2 separate regions of the Homo sapiens genome follow, and region 2 is linked to region 1. The links are contacts of gene promoters, found by promoter capture Hi-C in blood cells and fetal thymus (Javierre and others, 2016). All regions are on one chromosome and are shown on one strand. The core of a region is centred on a gene start or on the middle of the fragment in contact, and the rest is flanking DNA. Distances in the headings are between cores, read along the strand shown. Region 1 holds the start of C14orf180 (chromosome 14 open reading frame 180). Region 2 has its middle 110 kb from the start of LINC02691.

Region 1 (4,989 bases), core at 850-3,349:
GAGTGCCCAGCCACTGGACATGCTCCGCCCTCCCGCTGAATGACAGCTGGCCTTAGTTGCTGTGTTCCCGGGGCACTGCTCAGGGTGGGTGCACCACAAAGATCTGGGGAGGGTGGGGCATCCGATCATTCCCAGCTCCCGGGGAGAGATGAGGGTGTGGCGGAGGTCACCTGGCTGAACAGTGACAGAGCTGGGCCCAAACCTGGGCACCACGTCATTGGCACCACTGCCCGTGGGCACATGTGCCCACCTGCCGGCTGCAGGCAGGCCTGACACAACTGGGCTCTTCCCTGGCACTGCCTGGCACAGGCACTGGGGACCCTCCGCGGACCCGGCAGCTCAGCACTCCCCTGGGCCAGCCTTATCTTGCCCTGCAGAGCCCAGGCTGGAGTGAGGCGCAATGGACGGAGGCGAGGAGGGTGCAGCCGAGCCCTATCAGATACGGCCGGAAATATGACCCCGCTGGGACCTGAGCCCTGAGCCGAGCCATCAGCTCACTAATAAATTACCCAGAGCGAATGTCCACAGGGTCAGCCCGCATCGCCTTTCCAGGGAGCACAGAGAGGGGGCGGCACCCAAGGTCTGTGGGCTGACCGTTCCCTCCCCTCTGTCAATGAGAAGGGTCAGGAAGGAGTTGTCCCGGAGCCCCCCGACCTCGGGCAGTGCAGCCTGACCTCTGAAATCTGGGAGGAGCAGCTCCAGCCCTGGGAAGCCAAGGATAAGCGCCCAGATTGGGCACAGGCGGGAGAGGGTCTTGTCTGGCTACAGGACCTCACTCTTCCCAGGAAGCCAGACTGCCAGCAGGACCACCCAGCCTTCCTCAGTGCTCTCCCTGGAACAAGCGTCAGCGAGCCAAGGCCCTCCTGCCAATCTGGCCCACCCCGTTTGTGTAGACACAGAGCGCACTGTGTGCCATATGGCCCTGTAAGAGAAAAGTTTGCTCCCCCATGCCCTGTACTGAAGACGGCAGTGAGGGGAGGGCCGGTCTGCTGAACCCCATCCCAGTGGCTGCGTTGCTCATGCTCTGACGGTGGGTTCCAGGACTCTGTGTCCATGCAGCCCCACGGCTGGCCCTGAGCAGTCACCCTCTGTGCACACTGTCCCCCAGCCTGGCACACCCTGGGCTCCCAGGGGTCCTGTAGCTTTACCCAAGGGAGATGCACCCCCATTCCTAATGGAGAAACACGGGTCTCTCCACACCTCCTCCAGCAGTCCCCTGAAACAGGTCAAAGCCCCACAAACCAGGCAGGGGTCTGCCCACATGTGGTGGTGCCCTGCGCCAGTGATGCCCTCACCAGCCTCTTTCAGACCTGCCTTTACATGCACCAGCAGACGGGGGGGCTGGCGAGGACGGGCCACCAAGCCTGAGCCAGGCTACCACCTCCGGGCTGTGTGACTCTGGACAGGGTGCCTCAACTCTCTGAGCTGCACTTTCACCTACAAATGAGGGGCAGACTCAGCAGCGCCAGGCAGGGCAGTTGGACGCCCACCCAGGACAGACCCTGAGAAAGGCTGATCCCTCACCCCTGCCATCGCTCACTGACCCATACATTGCCCCTTCCTGCCAGGGCAATATCGAGGGTCGGCCAGTGTGCCCCAAAACGGCAGCTTGGGACCCATTCTTTGCCTCTCCCTCTGGCAACCCCAGGTCAGGACTCACAGGGGCACAGGGGCCTGGGGCAGGGCGGGCACTCTCGCCACCACGGAGGCCCCATGCTGGGTCAGGGTCTTATTGGAGGCTGGACTCTGTGATCACCTCACCTCCCGCAGCCCCACAGTGCCCTCCCTCTCCCACTCTGCCCCGAATTCCAATCCATAGGTTTTTCCAAGAGCTGCACAGCTCTGGAATTGACCTGGGAGGGGGCACATTTGGGCCGGGAGGGGTAGGAACAGCAGCAAACTCTGGTCTTATCTGAAATCATGGTCTGTTGTCCACCGGGGGCCTGGGAAACAGCCACCCCCTTCTGCTCCGGGGCCAGCGGCCTGTCCTCGGGTTCACTGCTATTTCTGCCAAAGGGGAGAGGTAATTATAGCCTGGCCGCTGCCAGCTGGCCCAGCTTTGCGATCCAGCAGAGAGGGCTGGAGACGGGACGAAGGCCACAACAGACCCGGCCCTGCCAGCGGGCGGTGGCGCCTCCAGATCAGAGCCCTCGGGAAGGAGGCCTGGGCGGGCCTGGCCCGTTCACCTGTGTGCCCTGCAGTTCTGCCCGAGGCTCAACTCTCAAGGGCCTGGGAGGGGTGCTGCCGGCCAAGAGGGTCCAGGACCTCACTGGACTGTGCCCCACAGGGAGATCCCGAAGAGCCTGTTTCTGTCCCTCGGGGAGCCAGGAGGGAACCAGGTGAGTTCCAGCCCCAGGGAGAGGGGGCTCACTTCCTGCTTGGGTATGAAGATGCCAGAGCGGAGAGATTGCCAAAGGCAGGTGCAGGTGGGGAACCTGCCCCAGCTGGGCAGCAGGTGTGGGCAGAGACTGGGCAGAGCGGAGAGATTGCCAAAGGCAGGTGCAGGTGGGGAACCTGCCCCAGCTGGGCAGCAGGTGTGGGCAGAGACTGGGCAGAGCACACACTGATGATCCTGAGTGACCTGAACAAGCTCCAGAGTGGCCACCCTTCCCCCTTCTCCTGGGACTGATGGTTTCCCTAAAACGGAGACAGTCCCAGGCCGGCCCTGTGTCCACACTGAGGCCAGGCCGCCTCTGGGGGAAGCAGGGAACACGGCCACTTCAAACTTAGCAGCGGGGGTGCTCCTGGCCACACAGGAGCTTCCAAAGGGCACCTGATGTTGCGCGAAACAGCCTGGGCAGTGGGAGAAGGGGCTGCACTCTCAGGGGAATGCAGGCAGCCGTGCCAGGCATGAACCCAGCCAGCCTTCCCTGAAGGGCCTTGGTGGGGGGCATCCTCCGAGGGCAAGTCTACGCAGGCCCAGCCTAGCAGGAATGGATTCGTTACTCCAGTAACTGAAGCCTAGTTCTCAGTGTTTGGGAATCCCTGAGAACTGGCTCTTTTCTGAGCCGTCAGTCAGAAGGAATCCCTGTCCTGCCCTGTGTGGCCATGGGACCCCCACCCAGCACTGGACGCCACGCCATTTCTTGGGCACTACTGAGCTTTGCAGTGCCCTGGACAGTTGGCAAACAGCCCCCATTCCACATATGGGAGGAAGGGCCTGGGGGGGTCCCCCGCCCTGTCTGTCTGGAGCTCTCGAGGCCTAGGGTGGCCCCTGCACCCAGCAGATGAGCAGCCATCACCCGGTACTGCTGCTACCTCGAGCCCTAACTGCACCTCGGGATGTGAGGGCCCATCTAGGCATGGAGAGGGGCCTCAGGGGGCCACCAGGCAGCTCCTGCTCCTGTTCCTACCTGGTAGGGCCTGCAGGCACCTGAGCAAGCCCAGTGGGCGGTCAGCCCAGCCAGGGGCCTCCCCACAAGTTCTCCCTCTTACTTAAGTCGAGAACGCATGTTGTCTGGGGAGCTGCCAGCGTGGTTCCAGTGGTGAGCGTTGGGCTGGGAGCCAAGGCTTTTCCCAGGAGCCCAGCCACCCCGCCTGGCTGTGTTCTGCCTCCGCCCTGCAGAGGAAAGGCCAGCGAGGCAGTGTCCATGGTCCCAGTCTTCTTCCACCGGAAGAAGGCACAACCTGCATCTGCAGCCCCAGGGCCATTGGGTTAGGCCTGTGGCCAAACTACTAAGGTGCTGGGAGACTGAGGAGGCCCAGCTCCTCCTGGGGCCACCAAGCCCGTGGTTGACGGCCTCCCCATGGACCGGGCTGTCCCGAGAGCAGCAAGTCAGCCGGGGCCCTCAGGGCCGCTGAGGCCACTGCTCAGTGTCGCCGTAATGGAAACTTCTCAGCTGGTTGTGAGCCGCAACAGCTCTGGTTCACACCCTGCGACAGCGAGGCTGTGACCGCCAGTGGATCTCGGGGCTGATCAGGCCTGAGCCACCCCGGAGGTACAGCACCAGCAGGAGCCCAGGTGGGCAGGGGCAGAGAGAGAGAGAGAGAGAGAGAGAGAGTATGTATGTGTGTGTGTGTAAGTGGTGGGGGTGGGGGCTGTGAGTCTCCAGCTTCTCCCAGGGAGGTCTCTGGCTTCCCAGGAGCCTGGCCCCCTGTCTCCAGCTCCCAAGTGAGTTGCCCTGGGGGAGGCTGCACCTGGAACAGGGAAACAGGGAGCCTGGCCCCAGCCTGCACTCGCTCAGGCCCCGGGACCCTCTGCCCCTGGAAGGCTGTGAGGCTGCCGTGTGAATGGGTGCAGTGCCAGGCGAGGGGTGAGCCGGGAGTGTGGGGCCGCACGCTCAGAGCCGAGGAAGGGCAGTGCCAGGCGAGGGGTGAGCCGGGAGTGTGGGGCCGCACGCTCAGAGCCGAGGAAGGACCTCCCATGTGGGGTGGGTGGGATGTCAGGATTTCTCACGAGCCAGCTGCTGCATGGGGGGCACTGCCCGCCCCGAGGAACCCTCAGGGAGGACAGAGAAACATCAGGAGGTGGGCTGTGGGCAAAAGGGCGGGCGGCACGGGCCAGGCAGAGGCAGCAGCCTGGGAGGAGGCGGGAAGCCAGCGGGCGGCGTCCTGGAGGACGGGGCAGGAGTGGGAGGGAGCAGCAGTGGCTGGGCCCCAGAGCTTGGCGTTATCCAAGCCACAGAACCAGGCAAGAACCACTGGCCCGCCCCCACGCCCCACTGCAGGCTGGTCTCGAGGGGGAGGGACTCGGCACTGCCACGGCCGCTGGGCTCCATCAGTGCCCTCACGTCTCTCAGCAGCTTCAAGATGAGGTGGGGTCTTTGGGGTACTGGGCTAGACCCCCAAAGACTGTTGGAGGGTCACACCCCAGACCAAGGTCCTGGGCCTCAGCCCTCATGGCCCCACCTCCCACCAGCAGTACGGGCTGGTCATGCCCACAACTGGGAGCTCCGGGCCCTGACTCCCGCCTCTGTCCCAACCCAGGCTCTGAAACCTGGCAGGCTGTTCTCCCTCTCTGGGCCTCAGTTTCCCCTCCGCCAGGGAGCT
Region 2 (4,989 bases), core at 1,433-3,932, 240 kb before region 1:
CCTAGCCCAAACCAGGACGCACAGGAGCAGGAGTGGCCCTCAGAAATGGCCGTGCCCACTCCCTGTCCCTGCAGCCCAGTGGAGACTGGGGAGTGGGGAGGCCCAGTGGGGAGGCCCAGTGGGGAGGCCCAGCCTGTGGGGACAGGCAGCCACAAGCAGACACAGCCTGAAGGAGAAAGCATCCCAGCCCCTCCCTCTTCTCTCAACCCCGCACCAAACTGCCCTCCCTCCCCAGCCCAGCCCAGCCCCCAGGTCTCTTCTGCTGCCAGCTCACAGTGGTCACATGCCTTGGGCCTGGTGGACCATGTGGAGGAACGGAGGATGGGTATTCGCAGGTGGAGGAAGCGGGTCCCTGCGAAGTGGAGAGCTTTGTCTGGGGTCACACAGCGACTTAGTCTGGGGGTCCTGAGACCAGAGCCCAGCCTAGTGCTGGGTCTTTGGCAGCTTCCATTCCCAGACGCCAGGGTGGGGGAGATGTTCCCTCACACGTCTGCCAGCATCCTGTCGATGGCCTGAGACTGTCTGCCCACTGTCTTCTGCGGGACCCTGGGCCCTGGGCCCTGGAAGAAAGGGATCCGTTTGGAGAGGAGCAGAGAGCACCAGCCACATGGAGCCCAAGGCACACTGTGTGCAATGCCAAGCAAGCCACGCACCGTCTGTGGGACTCGGTTTCTTGTTCTGATAAACAGGGGACATGTGTGCTCCTCACAGGGCTTCTGTGAAGATTAACCAGTGAGCACAGAGCACCCAGCCAAGGGGGCAAGTAATGGGCTGGAAGCTTCTGTATTTGTTTTCAGAGGATTTTCTGCTGCCTCTCACTCCTATATCTAATTAGAATTAGGTTCTGCTGGATAGAATAGAAAGCTCCCCAATAATCATGACTTCAACATGATAGAAGTGTATTTGTCTGTGTGTTTGTCTGTGTGTTTCTGAAGCTGGAAGGGGGCAGGTCCAGGGCTGCTGTTGTGAACTTGGCATCAGGAGCCGTGGCTGCTTCTGTCCTGTTGCTCCACCATGCATGGCCTTTATTCCTGAGGTTTCCTTTCCATCGCCAGATCTTAGTCACATGGCAGACCGCACTGCAAACAGGGCTGGGCAATGTAGCCTTTATTCCTGGAAGACACCTGCCCAGTGAAAATTGTGTGTTCTATTACTGAAGAAGGGGACCGCAGATATTGGGGGCAACTGGTAATCTATGCATGACCTACAGTCACATGCCTGAGAAAAAAAATATTTTTAAGACCTGGAATGAATAAGGATATTTTCAGCTAAAAGTGGGAAGAATTTGTTAACAATAATCCCTACTTTAGGAAGAGGGAAAATGATCTAGGAGGATGTTCTAAAGCAAAAGAAAGAATAGCAAGCAAAGAAAGGTGAGACATGTGGGTACACTTCAGTAAACATTGACAATATGAAGCCATGGTGGTAATGTCTGACTAAAAAGAACAAGGTAGAAATAAAATGCTTGATAATAATTACATATAGATAGGAGGTCAGTGTTGGGAGTGAAAGTATTCTCAGATCCTGTATGGTTGGAGAGGAGAGTAAGAGGATTACAGTATTAACTATTGCATTTTGCTTATTTTCTTGCTAATCATTTTAATTTTATTAACATTTTATATGGCATATATAAGAGTATAAAATGTATGTATATGGTTTAAAGAAGAAAAAGAAGATTAATAATCATGTAAACTCCTCTGTAGCCACCACTTGGATAAAATCCTCCCGGAGCCTCAACAGCCCACGGAATGCTCCTCCCTAATCATACTCTCTTCTTCAATCCCCAGTGTTCCCGGGTAATGCGAACTTGAATTTGTGTTCATCTTTCCCTTGTTTTCCTTGATCGTTTTTGCCATTTATATCTGTGATCCTAAATAACATATTGTCTTGTTTGAGCTGCTTTTAGACCTTATGTAAATAGAACCTTCTTCATATATAACGTTTGTGTCTTGGTCTTTCATTCAATACTATATGCATGAGGACTATCCATTTGAATGTTTATGGTGCAGTTCATTAGTCTTTATTGCTGTTGGGTACTCCGTTGTGTGAATATGTCACAATTTGTTGATCAGTTCTATCGCTGATGGACATTTATGTTGTCTGCAGGCTTTTTACAATCACAGTGCTGCTATAAACATCCTGGTATACATCTCCAGGTGCGTGTGCATGAGCCTTTCTCTGGGTGAGCCTGCTGGAATGCTGTGATTGGGGTGCAGGCATGTTTAAGCAATGGGGCCCCACTCTGTCTGAGCAGCCAGCAGGGCTGGAGCAGCTTGGACCCTGGACTTTCTGTCTGGCCTTGCAGCCTGGAGCAGCCTCGCCCATTTACTCCATTGTGTCATATAAGTACTGCTGTTTTCTGCCAGGAGTTGGAAAAGGTTTGGGGTCCTCTAGAGATGGCACCCGGTGAGGAGTTGCTGGCTTTTTAGTTATGTGCAAGTCACCTCTACTAGGTGTGAGAAACTGTTTTCCAAAGTAAGTGTAGCTCTGACAGCTGTGGCTGAGACATCCTATTGCCCACTCATCCTTTCCAGTACCTAGAATTGATCTGCTTCTTAATTTGTGCAAATTTGGTTGTAGTAAAATGATATCATATTATTTTATTTTGACTTAATAGATAAATACAATTTAAATCCAGTCCAATCCTATCTAATCCAATTGTCTATTATTGAGCATGTATATAGCTGAAACAACAAAACTCACACAGTACTAAATGGTATGTTCACTGATCTTCTCTTCCCTGATCCTGCCAGTGTCACCTCTAGAATTAACCATGATTGACTTAAAATTTTTTTGTTCTGGCATTTACACATCTGCATTTTTCTAAATATTGTGTATATATTGCTGCCTTTTTATTAATTCATTTAGAATATAATTTTTAAAATTTCCTGTTACAGTGATGAGAATTTAGCCCTTGCATTCTGCTAGCTCCTGTGCTCTCCTTTCTTCTCTTCCAGTATAGTTATACTACAATTTTTGCTTAAGTAAAGTTTGTACCTTTACATTGTCTATATAACATTCATAGCTCAGCCTAACATTATAGTATACTCCAATTATGTTTCCTTTTTTACTTTCTGTGTTTCCTAAAGTTATTCATTGCCTTGCTTTTTGATTTGCTTACTTTTTTTTTTTCTAACCTATTACTAATTCTTCCCACATCTTCAAATGTCCTTTTTGTGCACTTTTCCACATCACATATTCCTGTAAACCCTCTGCCTGAAGATCTTTTTCTCCTCTCATCTGGGCTGGCTGCACACTTCGTCCCGGGACTTGCCTCTGCTGATGCTTTTCTCCCAGGTGGGGGTCCCTGTTTCCTGGATCTCATTCATGTCTTCCTTTCTTGGTTTGCTCCCTTGTTTGGCATGAACCATTTTGTGGGTAAATGATGTGAAAAGATGGTTCATCAGCCCTGACAACCTTCAATATTCTGGTGTCCTGAAAAATCTGCTCTGATCTAGACTGGTTGCCCTGTATGCCTGGATCTTCCCTCACCACCATACTGGATAGTCCTTTCACTTTTCTCCTATTTTCTAGAGAAAACTAGCAACCACTAATCTTTTTTCAATCTCTATAATTTTGTCATTTTGAGAATGTTGTATAAATGAAGTTGTAAAGCATGTGACCTTTTGAGATTGTCCCCCCTCCCAGCACAATTCCCTTGAGAGCCATCTGAGTTACTGCATGCATCAACAGTGCTCCTTCTTATTGCTAATACTCCATAGCATAGATGTACAGCAATTTGTTCAACCATGCACCTATTACAGGAAATTTTGGTTGTTTCTAGGTTTTGGCTATTACAAATAAAGCTGCTATGAACAACAGTGTACAGATTTTGCATGTGAATATAAATTTTTATTTTTTAGGGTAAACGACCAAGAGTGTAATTGCTGGGTCATAGGGTAAGAGTACGTTTGGTTTCATAAGAAATTGCCAGACTGTTTTCCAGGTGGTTGTACTACCTTAAATTCTCACCAGCAATGTATGAGTGATCTCCAGTTTCTCCACATCCTCCCCAGCATTTGGTATTATCACTATTCATTTTAGGTGTTCAACTGGTATGTAGTGGTATCTCATCATGGTCTGAATTTGCACTTCTCTAATGGCTAAGGATGTTGCTCCTTAAGTGTTGTGCTCTGGCATCTTGTTAGCCTCATCCTAGTCCTGGCTCTGCCACTCCCCCTTCATCGTCAGTCCTAGAGACACCTGCTGCTGCCAGTTCCTGAGATTTTAAATATTCTTGGGAGCAAATCAGACTTATTCACAGTTTTTCCCTTGCTGGCTCAGGAGTTGTCTTTCTCAAGTCTGCTAAGGCAGTTAGCACTTGTCTATCTGCTTTCCAGCTTCCAAAATTTTGTTGTGTTTTACTGTTTACTGTTAGTTGTTTATGATTTAGTCTGTCATAAAGTACACTTCCCCTCTTCCTGTTGTGTTCTTCTCATCCCTAAGAGTTTATGTCATTAAAAAACCTCTCATTATAGTTTTAGTAGGAGTGTGGAGAGAAAGTGAGATGCATATGTTCAGTCTATGATCACAATCAGAATTCCCTAGAGGATTTTCAAAAGGCATTTCTGAGTAGGCACAGTGGCTCAAGCTTGTAATCCCAGCACTTTGGGAGGCCAAGGCAGGAGGATCACTTGAGCTCAAGAGTTCAAGACCAGCCTGGGCAGCATAGTGAGACCCTGTCTCTACAAAACTTTTTGAAAATTAGCAGTGAGTGGCAGTGCATGTCTGTAATCCCAGCTTCTTGGGAGGCTGGGGCAGGACAATTGCTTGAGCCTGGGGGATTGAGGCTGTGGTGAGCTATGATTGTGCCCCTGCACTCCAGCCTGGATGACAGATAGACCCCATCTCAACCAAAACAAAAACAAACAAACAAACAAAGGCATTTCTTTGATTACTGAAGAGGTTGAACTTACTTCCAAATGTTTATGAATCTGTGTATTTCCTCTTCTGTGAAATGCTAGTTCAAATTTTTTGTCCATTTCTTCC

The links. Contacts are between HindIII fragments. The CHiCAGO score rates a contact against its expected background, and 5 or more counts as called.
Region 2: a contact is called between a fragment that was not itself captured here and the fragment with the promoter of C14orf180 in region 1, in 1 of 17 cell types (endothelial precursors). The highest score is 5.1, in endothelial precursors.

The regions. Positions count from the first base shown.
Region 1 is chr14:104,577,665-104,582,653 of GRCh38, forward strand. It overlaps C14orf180 (chromosome 14 open reading frame 180), which reads left to right and starts at 2,100. Exons shown (of 5, transcript NM_001008404.3): 1 at 2,100-2,339. The HindIII fragment of the contact is 16,067 bases long and covers 1-4,989 here.
Region 2 is chr14:104,335,287-104,340,275 of GRCh38, forward strand. No RefSeq gene overlaps it. Among named protein-coding and RNA genes, the nearest start is that of LINC02691, 110 kb to the left of the region's middle. RefSeq lists an enhancer at 1-243. The HindIII fragment of the contact is 3,813 bases long and covers 777-4,589 here.